Regions from separate parts of the Homo sapiens genome. Here regions 2, 3, 4, 5 and 6 are each linked to region 1. Evidence: promoter capture Hi-C in 16 types of primary human blood cells and fetal thymus (Javierre and others, 2016). All regions are on one chromosome and are shown on one strand. The core of a region is centred on a gene start or on the middle of the fragment in contact, and the rest is flanking DNA. Distances in the headings are between cores, read along the strand shown.

Evidence for each region. The method cuts DNA at HindIII sites, captures the fragments that hold promoters and counts their contacts. A CHiCAGO score of 5 or more calls a contact.
Region 2: a contact is called between the fragment with the promoter of KLHL24 here and the fragment with the promoter of LAMP3 in region 1, in 1 of 17 cell types (activated CD4 T cells). The highest score is 5.3, in activated CD4 T cells.
Region 3: a contact is called between a fragment that was not itself captured here and the fragment with the promoter of LAMP3 in region 1, in 1 of 17 cell types (M2 macrophages). The highest score is 5.7, in M2 macrophages.
Region 4: the fragment with the promoter of KLHL6-AS1 here is called in contact with the fragment with the promoter of LAMP3 in region 1 in 15 of 17 cell types (fetal thymus, M1 macrophages, activated CD4 T cells and 12 more); the score reaches 12.7 in fetal thymus.
Region 5: a contact is called between a fragment that was not itself captured here and the fragment with the promoter of LAMP3 in region 1, in 1 of 17 cell types (M2 macrophages). The highest score is 5.1, in M2 macrophages.
Region 6: a contact is called between a fragment that was not itself captured here and the fragment with the promoter of LAMP3 in region 1, in 3 of 17 cell types (erythroblasts, M1 macrophages and M2 macrophages). The highest score is 8.0, in erythroblasts.

The regions. Positions count from the first base shown.
Region 1 is chr3:183,161,443-183,164,082 of GRCh38, forward strand. It overlaps LAMP3 (lysosomal associated membrane protein 3), which reads right to left and starts at 1,292. Exons shown (of 6, transcript NM_014398.4): 1 at 1,165-1,292. The coding sequence starts at 1,213. RefSeq lists an enhancer at 471-680 and a silencer at 1,293-1,502. The HindIII fragment of the contact is 7,998 bases long and covers 1-2,640 here.
Region 2 is chr3:183,634,270-183,636,909 of GRCh38, forward strand. It overlaps KLHL24 (kelch like family member 24), which reads left to right and starts at 1,354. Exons shown (of 8, transcript NM_017644.3): 1 at 1,354-1,524. It overlaps LOC107986162 (a long non-coding RNA gene), which reads right to left and starts at 2,340. Exons shown (of 2, transcript XR_001741042.2): 1 at 2,266-2,340; 2 at 1-2,015. RefSeq lists an enhancer at 1,200-1,259 and silencers at 1,680-1,789, 1,800-1,869, 2,060-2,379, 2,430-2,640. The HindIII fragment of the contact is 5,143 bases long and covers 1,001-2,640 here.
Region 3 is chr3:183,603,595-183,606,234 of GRCh38, forward strand. No RefSeq gene overlaps it. Among named protein-coding and RNA genes, the nearest start is that of KLHL24, 31 kb to the right of the region's middle. The HindIII fragment of the contact is 572 bases long and covers 1,041-1,612 here.
Region 4 is chr3:183,547,430-183,550,069 of GRCh38, forward strand. It overlaps KLHL6-AS1 (KLHL6 antisense RNA 1), which reads left to right and starts at 1,306. Exons shown (of 2, transcript NR_046687.1): 1 at 1,306-1,534. All of the region lies in intron 1 of KLHL6 (kelch like family member 6), which reads right to left. The HindIII fragment of the contact is 1,687 bases long and covers 979-2,640 here.
Region 5 is chr3:183,482,883-183,485,522 of GRCh38, forward strand. No RefSeq gene overlaps it. Among named protein-coding and RNA genes, the nearest start is that of SNORA63E, 30 kb to the left of the region's middle. The HindIII fragment of the contact is 1,704 bases long and covers 488-2,191 here.
Region 6 is chr3:183,444,383-183,447,022 of GRCh38, forward strand. No RefSeq gene overlaps it. Among named protein-coding and RNA genes, the nearest start is that of SNHG33, 1.9 kb to the right of the region's middle. The HindIII fragment of the contact is 8,371 bases long and covers 1-2,640 here.

The DNA.
Region 1 (2,640 bases), core at 42-2,541:
TGCAGTGGCATGATCTTGGCTTACTGCAACCTCCGCCTCTTGGGTTCAAGTGATTCTCCTGCCTCAGTCTCCCGAGTACCTGGGATTACAGGCGCCCACAACCATGCCCGGCTAATTTCTGTATTTTTAGTAGAGGCGGGGTTTCACCGGTGGCCAGGCTAGTCTCGAACTCCTGACCTCAAGTGATCCGCCGGCCTCAGCCTCCCAAAGTGCTGGGATTGCAGGTGTGAGCCACCACGCCTGGCCTGTCAATACCATTGTGTTTCTGAGCCTATCCATCCATTCAAGGAGCGCTCACATACAGGTCACTGTGGGTTACCGCTAGGCTGAGATTGTTTTGCTTTTTTAATAGCTTGCCCTGTGGAGCGTGATGATGACTTCCTCTTCTGTCCCCTAAAAGAACCTGAAACTGTAAGTGTGAAAGTGTGGCGCAGGGGAGAACTGCCTAGGCAAGGGCAGCTGGCACGACCCTTCTCACCTCTTCCCTAACATTCCTAGCATTCATGTTACAAGCAAGGGCCACCGCGCCCCCTGCTTGAGCATGTTAGCCGGGCGGTAGGGACGGAGACAGTTCTCTCATGACGTTCGAGTAACCAGGAAACTTCATCACAGGGACAACACCACAGCACCCGAGGACTCAATGTCTAGGGGGAAAAGCTCTGGAGAAAGCGGAGGGTCGGATCATAAAATAATCATAAACTCAGCGTCCCAGACGGCATCTGGGATGGGAAGTACAATGATCATTTAAAAAAAAAAAAGTCTTTGACACTCTTCCTACACCTTTCTGAAATGGCACAATCTGTCAGACCACATCTGATGCAAGGAAAAGCAAGACAGGAGCGCTTTTCCCGGATAACAAAGCCAAGACTCCCATTCCTAAACCCTAGCTCAGGTCTCCATCTCTTAAATCCGAGTGACCTCTACAAACTCTCCCTGAGAAGGTGTCCAGAACCCTTTTGGAAGCGAGGGACAGTGTCACTGTCTTTGGGGTTGACACCTGCTCTGAGTAACTCACGGAAAACAAGTTCCAGCTGGGAAGCCCTTGGACGCGCCACACCTCCCTACCCGCAGCCCGTCCTGTGGCGCCCGGGACTCCAGAGTGCGTTTAGATGAAAGGGGACCGACACGTCAGGGCCACCGCGGGAAGCGCTGAGGGCCACTCACCGGCCAGGGACGCGAAGAGCGCGGCCGCCGCGCTGAGCTGCCGGGGCATGGTGGGCGCTGGGCGAGGTTCTGCAGCGTGCGGCGAAGTCCGGGCAGGCCCCGAATCGGTGCCAGAGAAACCTACCTGTGCCGGAGAAACGAAACCACCTGCTTATGAGAAGCAGCCGAAAAGCCCGCCCAGGGCCGCTGGGCGGGGAGGGAAACTCCGCCGGCCCCCTCCTACCCCTACGGAGCAGGGAGGGGCGGGGACTCGGCGCAGCCGCCGGGGCCCGGGCCTCTGGGACCGTTTACCGCACGCGCGTGGTCCCGGCAGCGCCGGCCTCCTCCGCTCATACCCTGGGTCTCCTCCTTTCTTTTTCTTTTCTTTTTGAGACGAAGTCTCGCTCTGTCGCCCAGGGTGGAGTGCAGTGGCGCGATCTCGGCTCACTACAACCTCTGCCTCCCGGGTTCAAGCGATTCTTCTGCCTCAGCCTCCCGAGTAGCTGGGATTACAGGCATGCACCACCACACCCGGCTAATTTTTGTATTTTTAGTAGAGACGGGGTGTCACCATATTGGCCAGGCTGGTCTCGAGCTCCTGACCTCGTGATTCGCCCGCCTCGACCTCCCAAAGTGCTGGGATTATAGACGTGAGCCACCGAGCCCGGCCAGGGTCTCCTCTTTTATTTCTTTTCTTTTTATTTCTTTTGTTTTGTTTTGTTTTGTTTTGTTTTTTGAGACAAAGTCTCGCTCTGTCGCCAGGCTGGAGTGCAGTGGCGGGATCTCGGCTCACTGCCCTGGTTCAAGCGATTCTCCTGCCGCAGCCTCCCGAGTAGCTGGGGTTACAGGCGCCCGCCACCACGCCCAGCTAATTTTTGTATTTTAGTAGAGACGGGGTTTCACCCTGTTGGCCAGGCTGGTCTCGATCTCCTGACCTTGTGATCCGCCCGCCTCGGCCTCCCAAAGTGTTGGGATTACAGGCGTGAGCCACTGCGCCCGGCCCAGGGTCTCCTCTTTTCTAACAGCTCGGGTACCTTTCTGGGAACCCAGAGACGCTTCTCAGCCGGGAGAAAGCCAGCCACTAGGCGAGCAGGAGCCTAAAAACCCCTAAGCACCCTGACTCCATGTCTTCCCAGGGAGTCTGCGGCAGCCGCGCTCCACGCCCAGGCCTCGCCAGGACCGCGGTTTGCGGGAAGCAACAGGAGCACAGCCCAGAGGCGCTAGGTCTGGCTGGGAGCTCGCGCTGCCGACTCCCCGGCGTGCGGCGTCGGGGAACCTCTAGGAGCCTTGGATTCTTCAGCTGTAAAACGGACATAATAATGCCCACTCCCAGTGTGTTTTTTTATTTTCTTTTTTCTTTTTCTTTCTTTGTTTTTGTTTGTTTGTTTTTGTTTTTGTTTTTGAGACAGGGTCTCACTCTGTCGCCCAGGCTGGAGGGCAATGGCGTGATCTCGGCTCACTGCAAACTTGGGTTCAGGCGATTCTCCTGCCTCAGCC
Region 2 (2,640 bases), core at 104-2,603, 470 kb after region 1:
ATTAAAACTCCAAGGAAAACCAAAAGCCATACAAGATGGGAAATTGTATACGATTTGTCTCAACAATGAATAATAAATACATGGTCTCATTAGCGTAAACATTAATGATTTAACCAGATTATGAGAAGGATAGCTTCCTTAATAGGAAATAGTCATACATTATTTGGAAATATATAAATACCAGAAGAAATAGCTCAAATAATTGAATAAGAGATGGAAAAGAGGCCTAAAAAGTATGTTTAAAAGGCCTGTATATAGGCCTTCCATATTATTTCCGCCTCTGGTCATCAGAACACAACGCCTAATTTAATAGAGGCATGACGGTATTCATGACATGTAGAAGATAGAGATTTTTAAATTTGGTATCAGAAACCAAAAACTAGTTAAATGGTTGCAATCATCCTTTAAAAGAATACCTGCAGGCGGGGCGCAGTGGCTCATGCCTGTAATCCTAGCACTGTGGGAGGCCAAGGCAGGCGGATCACTTGAGGCCAGAAGTTCGAGACCAGCCTGGCTAACACAGCCTCTACTAAAAATACAAAACATTACCTGGGCGTGGTGGCGGGCACCTGTAGTCTCAGCTACTCGGGAGGCTAAGGCGGGAGAATCGCCTGAACCCGGGAGGCAGAGGTTGCAGTGGGCCGAGATTGCGCCACTGCACTCCACCCTGAGTGGCAGAGCGAAACTCTGTCTCAAAACGAAACAAAACAAAAAGCTTGCAGACACAAAACGACAACACAATGTCCTTTAGGAACTCCATCTACCTTGGAAAACAGGGATTTGTGACAGCTTTGGTCGACGTGCATGTGCGTTTAAAATAAAAAGGTAACCTAGGATTTGATACCAGGGACAGTAACAGCTTTATCAAAAAAAAAGAGGTGGTTTTCCTTGCTCCTTCTAAGGACTGGGGTTTTAGTCTCGTCCACCCTGCAGGCCCTCAGGCCTGATTTCCGATTGTCTATCAAAGGGTCAAATAAAAAGCTCTCTAAGCTTCGACCCAAGCTTTAAAGTCGAAGGGCTGATCGCGGGCTTTTTCCTTGGGACGTGGCAGGGGCCTTTGAGGGAAGGAAAGAAACGACTCTGGCTTCTCACTCGGCTCCTTACACAAGAGGCATTTTTTTAACTGTCTCTGCTTAAAACAAGGTGTTTTTGAGTCAGCAGCCCTTTGGGTGGGTCTCGTCCTCTTGGGCACCCGACACCCACCCCACGGCGGGAGCCCCAGGTGGCCCCGGAGGCCACCGGGAAGCGTGAACTACATCTCCCAGGGTTCCCCGGGGCGGAGGACGCCCACCCGGATTGGCCAGGGTTCGCTGACGCTCAGTGTTTTGGCCCGGACGGTCACATGTTTCCTTTGTTGTGAGCTGCGGCAGAGACTGGTGGCTGGAGGAGACGCCGGCGCTGGAGAGTGCGCTGCGCCGCCCGCCGCTGAGGGACCGCGGGGTTAGCCACTGCTGGCTGCTTCCAGTGTTCGCCGAGAGGTACCGGGGGTGACAGCTCCGGGACCGGCCGAAAGGCGAGGAACCGGTCAGAGTCTGAGTCCTCGGGGGCGGAGGGGCGACGGCGGTCCTGACCACCGGGGTGTCTGCGGGAGGGCAGCCAGCGGCGGCCGGCCTCTCAGAGCCAGACTGGCGGTCTGCGGAGAGGCTGCAGCTGGGCTACAGGGCCCCTTTCTGAGGCGAGGGGCCTCCAGGGTTCACCTGGGGGGTCTTCCTCCCCCGCTTGGTAGCTACAGCCCTGAGGGAGGGCGCGCGCGCCTCCTGGCACTACGGCCCGGAACCGCGGCGCGGCTGGTGCGGCCTGGCTAGGGCGGGGTGGTTGCCGGGACTGGGGGTAGCCGCAGGTGCGGTAGGCTAGTCGCCGCGGGGCCGGGCGCCGCCGGGGGAGGCGGCTGGGCAGACGGGTGCTGCTTGTTGCCGATGGGCTGCGAACGGGGCGCTGCTTTTTATTTCAGGAAGCCCGGGGGAGTGCGACCGCCTCAAATCCAGCCTTCTTGTTTGGTGGGACGACCGTCGGTTCTGTCCGGGAGGAATGACGGGGTCAAGGTGGGGTCCCCAGGGCCGCGGGCCCGTGAAGCCCCATTAAAGCGATTGCGAAATGCACTCGGCACTGTCACCTGACCGTTACCCCCGCCCCCGTCCCCTGCGAGCCTTTGTTTACCACGATCGCGACACCCGGCCCGCTGCGGCCGTCCCCGGGGAGCCGGGGCGGGCGGGGGAGCGGGCGTTCCGCCGGCGCAGTCCCCGCCTAACCTCCCCACCTTCTTACCACTCCAGGACTCAGTTTCTTAATTTAGTTCCTAATGGACCCGCCCTCAAGTTCTGGACACCCCGGGTGAAGACTGTTAACGCGGCGGGGATTGGGCGCCTGCGGCAGCTTGTGGGCGGTACCCGAGGGAGAGTTCGAGTTTTTATTGGCGAGTTTTTATTGTCACTAGGTGGGCCTGCCCTGGGCCATTCTTCCCGCCCCCTTGAAGGTGATCTGGAGGACGCGCGGGAGCGCGCGCTGTCGCTGCTTTTGCAGCTGCGGCCCGAGTGGAGCCGGGTGGCGCGGGTGCGGGAGGCGCGCGCTCCCGCCCCTGCTGCGGGCGGCTGGTAGCCTCGGTGGCCGCCGCCGCCGCTGCTGCTGCCTGATCCTGCAGGC
Region 3 (2,640 bases), core at 77-2,576, 440 kb after region 1:
GGTGAAACCCCGTCTCTACTAAAAATACAAAAATCAGCTGGGAGTGGTGGCGCGGGTGGTGGCGCGTGCCTGTAGTCCCAGCTACTCCGGAGGCTGAGGCAGGAGAACTGCTTGAATCCAGGAGGCAGAGGTTGCAGTGAGCCAAGATGGCGCCACTGCACTCCAGCCTGGGTGACAGAACAAGACTCCATCTCAAAAAAAAAGAATTCAAGAAGATGGATGCCCTATGACAGAGGTCCCCGTCGAGGGAGCTGAAATCTCACTGCCTGTTGCAGAGTTCACTCTGCCAGGAAATTCATATAACTTTGCCCCACCAAACAGTGGCTCTCACTCCTTACCATGCCATCATGGTCTTCTCTAGCCTTCCTCTTGCCTTAATGGTTTTCTAGGTAGGAAGCAAACATTGGCCTCTGTGTTTAGTATAACTAACTCCAACACCACACCATTCAACCACAACACCTCCCCAACCCCATAAACTCCAAAGTCTGCATGTCAGGCTTCCCAAGAACTCTCTTAGCTTTCAGCCCTGGCTCCATGGAAACACAGGGGCTGTGATTCCTTCTCAGCCCATCACTTGAGCACATCTCCTACCCTGCTCCTAGGCAAGCAATCTGTTATCTGTAAGATTGCTTGCTTAGAACTCCTAGACTTCTATGCTTCTTGCACCCTTAGAACTCCTAGGCTTCTATGCTTCTTGCACCCTTAGAACTCCTAGGCTTCTATGAGGCTGAAGGTGGATGACAGAGGCTGACAGTCACAGGACCAGTTCTGCCATTTTTTAGACAACCTTGAGGGGATATCTAAAATCATTCTTTAGAAATAAAGAGGAATTCTTATCAGCTTTGAGAATTTAACCAAAATTATGAGACATCAGGAAAATCCCATTCCATATTGTTTTACATTAACAATTAAGAACCAATTAAGTTCTATTTCTTGACCTGGTCACTGGTTACTTGGGTGTGTTCTGTTTTGGAAAAATGTATGGAGCTATGTGCTTATGCTCTGTTTATTTCTCTTTATTAGGTTATACTTCCATAAAAAGCTTACTTACAGGAAATTATCCAGGATTCTCCCCCAACCCTGTGTGCTGGATTCTGTGCCAGCTATTTTACATCTCTTATCTCATGTAATCAGGCTGGCTACATTTATTGAGCATCTACTATATGCCAGCAGTATGTTATATTCTTTGTTTTCTTTTGATTTTTATTGTGATGTATAACATACACATAAAAAATTCAGTTTAACAAATAGTTATAAAGTGAACATACATGTAACCACCACCCAGATCAAAAAATATATTGCCAGCACCCCAGAAGCCCCTTATGTATCTCTTCATAATCATAATCCCCTGCAATACTCTTCATATGCATTATTTAATTTAATCCTCACAAAAATCCTGGGAAGTTATTACCAGTAGCTGCAAGCTGAAAAATTCCCAGAGTTCACCCAGACCTAGGAGACATTTGAGTTCTGATCAGCCAGAAAGAAGAAACTGTATTAAGCACCTGGGGCATTCAGTAAAGACCCCAGAAGCACCACACCTTGCTTGTAGGACTACCCTAGTCCCAGAGTAAAGGATACTCTAGACCTACAATAACAAAACTTAAAAACAAGCTTCAGACAGATCAAACTGATTTTCTAATAAATTGTCTGCCAGAATAAAGTCTAACATATTTAAAAGGAAAAAAGCAAAATTGAGCACTCAACAAATGTTGAAATGTCCAGCATCCAATCAAAAATCACCAGAGTAGGCAAGAATGGTTGTGTGCACCTGTTCCCAGCTACTTAGGAGGCTGAAGCTGGAAGGTTGCTTGAGCTGGGAGTTCTAATCTAGCCTAGACAACATAGCAAGACCCTGTCCTAAAATACAATTACAAGACATACAAAGAAGTTTTTTTTTTAATTTTAAGAAGTGATCCATGACTAGAAGAAAAATCAAATTCAGAAATGACAGAGGTAATGAAATTAGCAAAAAAAACAAAAAAAAAAAAAAACAAAAAAAAACCCAAAAGCAAAAACAACTATTGTAGCTATGTTCAAGTATTTAAAAGAAAAATGAATGTAATGCAGAGAGAAATGGGAGATATAGATAAGCGCCAAATGGAAATCCCAGAGATGAAAATATAATGTTTGAAATACAAAATTTGGCCGGCTGCGGTCGCTCATGCCTGTAATCCCAGCACTTTGGGAGGCCGAGGCGGGCAGATCACGAGGTCAGGAGAGCGACACCATCCTGGCTAACACGGTGAAACCCCGTCTCTACTAAAAATACAAAAAGTTAGCCGGGCCTGGTGGCAGGCGCCTGTAGTCCCAGCTACTCGGGAGGCTGAGGCAGGAGAATGGCGTGAACCCGGGAGGCAGAGCTTGCAGTGAGCCGAGATCGTGCCACTGCACTCCAACCTGGGCGACAGAGCAAGACTCCGTCTCAAAAAAAAAAATTACTGAAAGGGTTAAACAACAATTTAGGCAGTACAGAAGAAAAGATCAGTGAACTTGGAGGCATAGAAATAGAAACTATCCAGAGAGAAAAGCACAGAAAGAAAAAAGATTGAAAAAACTGATCAGAGTTTCAGTGACCTGTAGGGCAATATAAAGTGGTATAATGGGATTACAAGATGCAGAAGTGGGGGAGTGACAGAA
Region 4 (2,640 bases), core at 56-2,555, 390 kb after region 1:
TTTGTCTACCTTTTCTCACATGCATATCTTTCCATAGTTTACATGCAATTTTGCATCTTGCTTTGCCCCCTGTTTTCATTATAATATTTTTCCTACGGTGCTCCATGCTTTTCATAATGACTATTTATTATATTGCTACCAATTTCAACAGAGGCATAATATGAAAATCATTCTCTCACTGTGGACATTTAGGTTGCTTCCAGTATTTTGTTTTTATACGTGACGTGGTAATCTTTGCATTAAGCATTTTTTCCCAGTTTGGAATATGGACGGCCTACATTTTTTCAGGCACTTTGCTGGATTCTTTTTATTTCATTCAGTCTTCATAATATCAAGTAGATAGCATGGTGTCCATTTCATCCTTGGGGGAGCTCACTTTGATGGGAAGAGTGGTTTCCCCATGATGTCTAAACTGAAAACAGGCCTCTTCACAGAGAACAGAAATGTGGCTAACAGGTCATTTCCTATGACCCCTCAGCTCCCCAAGACTCTTTTGCTAGTGTAGGCTACATAAGCTGAAAATGAGGAGGAAATGTAAAAATCAGAGCCTCCTTGTGCTCATACACACATGCACAGGCAGGATACTGTTGGAACATTCATTCCAGTTTATGTCTGGGGGCTGAGCTGACAGACCCCCATAGCAGCAAGGACCCAGCATGCCTTAGGACATCAGTCTGGATCAAAGGGTTAAAAAAGAGACAAGGAAGCAGGGTCAGGGTGTGCAAGGTGAAAAGACAGTGCGCTCTGAAAATATATGGGACCTCACTGTGGCTAGAACCAGAAACTGGTTCTCACCATTTGGGAAGCCCAGCTCACTGCAAAATATGGCACACTCTGTAAGTGACAGTGACCTGTGAGGGCAGCCCTGCTGTGATTCCCAGGGTTGGCAGAGGGAGGGGAGTCCTAGTGATGAGGGGAGGGGTTATCAGGCTTTTCTCTGCCCTGTCTCATGACTGGCCCTTCCTTCATGCATAGAAAAGCTTCCAGGCTGAGGCTGAGTCATTAGCAATCTCCTTTGTTGATGCTGCTGCCTGGAATCCTTGTCTGGATTCCTGTCTCACTCCTGTCTTGTACCGCAGTCTCTAGGTCTGGTTCCTTGAGGCTATGTTGAGAGGACTTTACCCGCCAGCTACAAAAATCAGGCATAAGGCCAGGAATGGGAAGGTTATTGTGAGCACAATCTATGCACTTGTTAATCATTATTACATATTAACCAATTACTGCATGGCAGAAAAGTGGGGCAAGAGACTACTCTTAAGCCACATGTAGATGTTGTAATCCTGAGCTTTGTCTCCATAATGGGGTAAGATGTCAGAAAAGAGTCAGAAAGCCCAGGTGATAGAATAAGTGCCAAGAACATATACACCATGGAATACTGTGCAGCCATAAAAAGGAATGAGTTCATGTCCTTTGCAGGGACATGGATGAAGCTGGAAACCATCATTCTCAGCAAACTAACACAGCAACAGAAAACCAAACACCGCATGTTCTCACTCATAAGTGGGAGTTGAACAATGAGAACACATGGACACAGGTAGGGGAACAACACAACCCGTGGCCTGTCGGCGGGTGGGGGACAAGGGGAGGGAGAGCATTAGGAAAAATACTTAATGCATTCAGGGCCTAAAACCTAGATGATGGGTTGATAGGTGCAGCAAACCACCATGGCACGTGTATACCTATGTAACAAACCCGCGCATTCTGCACATGTATCCCAGAACTTAAAGTAAAATTTAAACAAATTTTAAAAAAGAGAATAAGTGCCAAGAAAAACAAGAATGAGTTAAGGCCATGTAGGTCTGTATTAAAAATCTGGCTAACAGCAAATGTGTTGAGGATTGCTGCTGCCACAGTGGGTACACTTGAGAACTCAAGTGAAGCCAATGATTGTAACACCAGGGTCAGGCCCTATATTTTCCACTTTTAATATTTTCCAATATTGTGGATCAGAACCAATATGATAGTAAATATTTCAGCATTATATATCTATAATCCCTTATCTGTAGTTTCAAAATTCCCAAAGTGCTGATAAATGTAAAGTTTTTTGTAACTTATTTCATGGCTAAATCCAACTTGAATGGCACTCGTCAGGTCGGGACACCTGAGTCTTGCTCTGTTGCCCCGGCTGGAGTGCAGTGGCATGATCTTGGCTCACTGCAACCTCCGCCTCCCAGATTCAAGCAATTCTCCTGCTTCAGCCTCCCGAGTAGCTGGGACTACAGGCATGTGCCACCACGCCCAGCTAATTTTTTGTATTTTTAGTAGAGATGGGGTTTCACCATGTTAGTGCTTGACTCTTAAATAGGAACAGATATCCAAAGACTACCAGATATTTAAGTATAGCCTCTAAAATAAAAGACAGAGGCCAGGTGTGGTGGCTCATGCTTGTAATCCTAGCACTTTGGGAGGCCGGGTCAGGAGGATCCCTTGAGCCCAGGAGTTTGAAACTATCTGGGCAACATAGGGAGACCTTGTCTCTAGGAAATAAATAAATACATACATAAAATAGAATAAAAGAGACAAAAACAAAGAGAAAAATACAGTGAAAACAAACAGTAAAAAACAAACAAAAACAGAAGAGTGGTTTTTTAAAAAATATAAACCTCAAAGAGATTAAGTGAAAATATGACCTATACAAAA
Region 5 (2,640 bases), core at 90-2,589, 320 kb after region 1:
AAGAGCTATCACCTTACTCTGATGACATTCCAAGTGCTTACACAGGCCTCTGAGACTCCCTACCATGGCTCTGAATTTAGTCCGGCTACACAGGCCTCTTGACTGTTCCTTACTTATTTATTTATTTATTTTTGAGATGGAGTCTCACTCCGTCACCCAGGCTGGAGTGCAGTGGCGCAATCTCGGCTCACTACAAGCTCTGCCTCCCATGTTCAAGCGATCCTCCTGCCTCAGCCTCCCAAGTAGCTGGGACTACAGGGATGCCACAATGACCAGCTAAATTTTTGTGTATTTTTAGTTCAGACAGGGTTTCACCATGTTGGCCAAGCTGGTCGCGAACTCCTGACCTCAAATGACCTGCCCATCCTGGCCTGCCAAAGTGCTGGGATTACAGGCATGAGCCACCGTGCCCAGCCATGACTGTTCCTTAAATACACAGAAGCCTCCCACCTCAGAGCCTCATTAGCTCTTCCCTCTGCCTGGAGTAAGCTTCCCCAGATACTCTCAGGCCTCTCATGCTCTCTTCACTCAAGCCTCTGTTTAAGTGTCTCTATCAGAAAGGTTGGCTGTGTTCATCCTAGCTCAAGTAGCATGCATCACCCTTCCCCTGAGTTACTTTCTTTGGACATTTATCTCTACTTGTCATTATATTATATGCTTGTTTGATTCTTGCCTGTCTCTCTCTACTAGAATGTTAGCTCATGTGAGCAGAGGCTTTGTTTTGTTCACAGATGGACAGAAATCATGCCTGGCACGTAGTAGGCGCTCAATGAATATTTGTTGCATTGTTTCACAAAGACTCACCCCATTCCTTCTTTCACTAATGTCTACTTAGAACTCAGAACAAAATCTAAGGCATCATTTTTCCTACAGATTCCTCCAGTGACCTTTTCCCGGAATGTGACATTCTACCAGAATGCACTTTGACAATTAAAAACCTCAGCATTTCTTCCTAGACTAGTTTTGTCACTGTCCTAATCTTTTTCTTTTTTTTTTTTTTTTCTATTTCTGGCTTGGTCTCATGTTTCAGGGAAATTACTCAATAGATGCTCCTATTACTACATTTTTACTATGAAAGAATAGAATTTCGGCCAGGCATAGTGGCTCATGTCTGTAATCCCAGCACTTTGGGAGGCCAAGGCAGGCGGAGGCGGATCACCTGAGGCCAGGAGTTCGAGACCAGCCTGACCAACATGGCAAAACCCTGTCTCTACTAAAAATACAAAAATTAGCTGGGCGTAGTGGCAGGTGCCTGTAATCCCCGCTACTCAGGAGGCCGAGGTAGGAGAATTGCTTGAATCCAGGAGGTGGAGGTTGCAGTGAGCTGAGATCTCACCATTGCATTCCGGCCTGGGCGACAGAAAAAAACAAACAAACTCAAAAAAACAAACTAACAAAAAAACTCAAAAAACTCAAAAAAAAACCTCAAAAAACTCAACAAAACAAACAAACTAACAAAAAAACAAAGAACAGAATTTCACCAACAAAAATCCTGTTTATCTAAGGCCAGACTTACAGATTTCTCTGCGCAGTCAGGTTTTCCCTCTGCCTTCTGTGTATTGCCGCTTTGTTAAATCAAGATGATATGGTTTGGCTGTGTCCCCACCCAAATCTCATCTTGAATTGTGGCTCCATAATCCTCAGGTGTCATGGGAGAGACCTGGTGGGAGGTAATTGAATAATGGGGGTAGGTTTTTCCCGTGCTGTTCTCGTGATAGTGAGTAAGTCTCACAAGATCTGATGGTTTTATAAAGGGCAGTTCCCCTGCACAGGCACTCCTTCCTGCTGCCATGTAAGACATGTCTTTGTTCCTCCTTCACCTCCTGCCATGATTGTGAGGCCTCCCCAGCCATGTGGAACTGTGAGTCCATTAAACCTCTTTCCTTTATAAATTACCTAGTCTCGGGTATTTCTTCACAGCATATGAAAATGGACTAATACACCAGGCTTTGCCACCCTCATCTCCCCTCACCCCTGCCCTGTCTGCCCAGGTCAGTGCCCTCCAGCCTTGTACCTTTCAGATATGGGTTGTGACCTGTGACCCATTTAGTGGGTGATGAAATTAATTTGGTGGCTTGTGAACAGCATTTTAAGAAAAAAATAGAATAGGAAATACAGAAAATGTGTTTCTTATTGTGATACATGTTCAAGAAAGTTTGAAAGCACTGCTCTGGCCTGTATGGGTCAAAGAAGCTTTAGTACTATTTTTCTCTTTAGTTGCCTTCAGCAGATTCTAGAAGAAGGGGCTTCGGCACTCCTGGCCTCGCACAGTGGGCCTGTGGTGGATTGTAGAAAATGGTCAGTTCTCTTTTAAAATGCTGCCAACAGCAGCGCAGGTGGTGGGCACACCTGTTCTTTTAACTGTATCTGTTTCATAAGGTAAGTATACCTGGGACACTGAAACTCTCAGTACCAACACTCCACTCATACCCTGCGCTCAGAGACTTCACCAAACCATCGCATGGCTTCTAGCAGCCTGAGGCCACGTCCCTGGGATGGCCCAGCCCCCTTTTGAGTTGCTGTCTGGGAAAGCTTAAGGCTGTCAAAAGAATTGAGTTTGTTCCACCAACATCTGACAACAGGCCCCTGATCTTGCTTTTTTAGAGCATTTACTAAAAAAAGGAGGCTTACCATTGTGAA
Region 6 (2,640 bases), core at 84-2,583, 280 kb after region 1:
TTTTTTCTTTGGATGTGTTCATTACAATAGCTAAAGCATGCATGTGGTACAAAATTTGAGTCAAAAGAGTATACAATGAAAAGGAATTTCTCCTACTTCTTTCTCTGAGCCACCACATTTTCCTTCCCAGAGGAAACACCTGTGTATACATGTAAGTAATCGTGTCTATGTTTCCTTTTGATTTTTTAAATAAAACTTATAGCATAATATATGCATTTCTGTATCTTGCTTTTTTTTATCCTTCAGTATATTTTACAGATAATTCCATATCAGTATACATGATGCAGAAACTCTAGAATTTCAATTATTTTCAATGACTGCATAGTAACCCATTGTATGTATGGCTATCCTATAATTCATCAGTTTTGCACTGATGGGCATTTAAACTCTCTTATCTTTGCTATATGAATTTAGAAATGAATTTCCTTAGTCACCCGTCATTTCAGCATGTAGGAGTACACCTGTAAGATAAATTCCTAGAAATAGAATTGCTAGGTCAAAGGTTTGTAAATTTGCAATTTGGGTACTTATTGTTAAACTGTTCTTCATAGCATTATTGCCAATTTCTGCTTCCATCAGCAAAGTATAATAATGCCTGTTTTCCTGCTACTTCCTCAATTACAGTATATTTTAAAACTTATATTTTCTAAAATGAAATATATTTTTTTATTTTGAATAAAATTGAGCCCTTTTATTCTGTATTGGTGTTTTCTGTGAACTGTTGATATTGTGTTGATTTTTCTAATGAGCTGCTAATACTGTTGAATTATAGGTACTTTCTCATGTATTAGGGAAATTAGTCCATCGTCTGTGACATGAGTTGCAATTTTTCACCCAGATTGCTGTCTGCCACTTTTAGTTTATGTACTTTTGCTGCTTTTAAATTTTTTTAAGTAATTGAATGTATCATTTTCTCTCTTACGGCATTTGGGTATTGCTTTATAAAATTTCCTGTGCTACAGAATGTATGAGGATTTAATGAAGTACACTTATACTTCATTTTTTCCATTTAATCTTTATCTGGAATTTATTTTGATGTGAGGTATGAGTTTGAGTTGGGATCCAACTTTACTTTTTCTAGATGGCTACCCAGTTGTGTCAATATCATTTGCTGAATTTTACAAGTTTTTTTAAAAATCAAGAATGTATGTTGAATTTTAACAAATACCTTTTTTGCATTTTGGAGATGACAAATTTTTCTTTTTCTTTATAACGATGTTTAGAGATGGGAGGTCTCACTACATTGCCCAGGCTGGCCTAGAGCTCCTGGGCTCAAGGGATCCTCCCACTTCAGCCTCACAAGTAGCTGGGACTACAGGCACAAGCCACTGTACCCAGCTATTTCTAGTAAAATAGAAATACTTTATTATAATTTTTATTTGATTTAGGATTTTTCCAGTAATATTCATGAGTATGAATTTTTTTTTTTTTAATTTTTTAGAGATGGAGTCTTGCTCTGTCTCCCAGGCTGGAGTGCAGTGGTGTGATCTTGGCTCACTGCAGCCTCCACCTCCCGAGTTCCAGCGATTCTCCTGCTTCAGCCTCCTGGGTAGCTGAGATTACAGGCACACACCACCAAGCCTGGCTAATTTTTGTATTTTTAGTAGAGACAGGGTTTCACCATGTTGGCCAAGCTAGTCTTGAACTCCTGACCTCAGGTGATCTGTCTGCCTTGGCCTCCCAAAGTGCTAGGATACAGGCGTGAGCCACCGCGCCCGGCCATGAGTAAGAATTTCTATGGTCAATGTATACGTATATGCTGTATGGGTGTTTTATGAGACTTTGGTATAAATGTTATGCTCACTTCATGAATAGAATTTGAAATGCTTCCTCTTTTTTCTGTGCTTAAGGCAGAATCAACAGCAACCAACTCTCTGTTCCTTAAGTTTTCACAGAATTATCCTATGAAATAATTTGGGCCTGGTGCTTCTGTGGATTCAGCTATGGAGAAATGCAGTTCTCTAATAACATCTATTTCTTTTTTTCCTTTATTTTGAGACCGAGTTTCGCTCTTGTTGCCCAGGCTGGAGTGCAATGGCACAATCTCGGCTCACCGCAACCTCCGCCTCCCGGGTTCAAGCAATTCTGCCTCAGCCTCCCGAGTAGCTGGGATTACAGGCATGTGCCACCACGCCCGGCTAATTTTGTATTTTTAGTAGAGACAGGGTTTCTCCATGTTGGTCAGGCTGGTTTCAAACTCCTGACCTCGGGTGATCTGCCCGCCTCGGCCTCTCAAAGTGCTGGGATTACAGGCGTGAGCCACCGCGCCCGGCCAACATCTATTTCTTCTATGGTAATTGGTCTACTTAGAATTTCTATCTCTGGAATGTTTTGGTAAATTATATTTTCTTGGAATCTTGTCCATTTCATTCAAGTTTTCAAATTTATTATGTAGAACTGACTGATCATGCAATGCTTTTAAGTTTTCCTGTATCTATGGTTATTTCCCCTTTATCATTTTGTATTTTGATGTGCTCCTCTTTCTTTCTTGAGCCAACCACCCTATTGTTGCCTTTTTCAAATCTCTTATTAGTATTCCCATTTCCATTTCTATTTTTTATTTTCTTCTTTTATTCTTACGAATTCCTTCTTTCGGCTTTTCTTAGGTTTACCTTGCTATTTTTTCTGAATTATTTAATT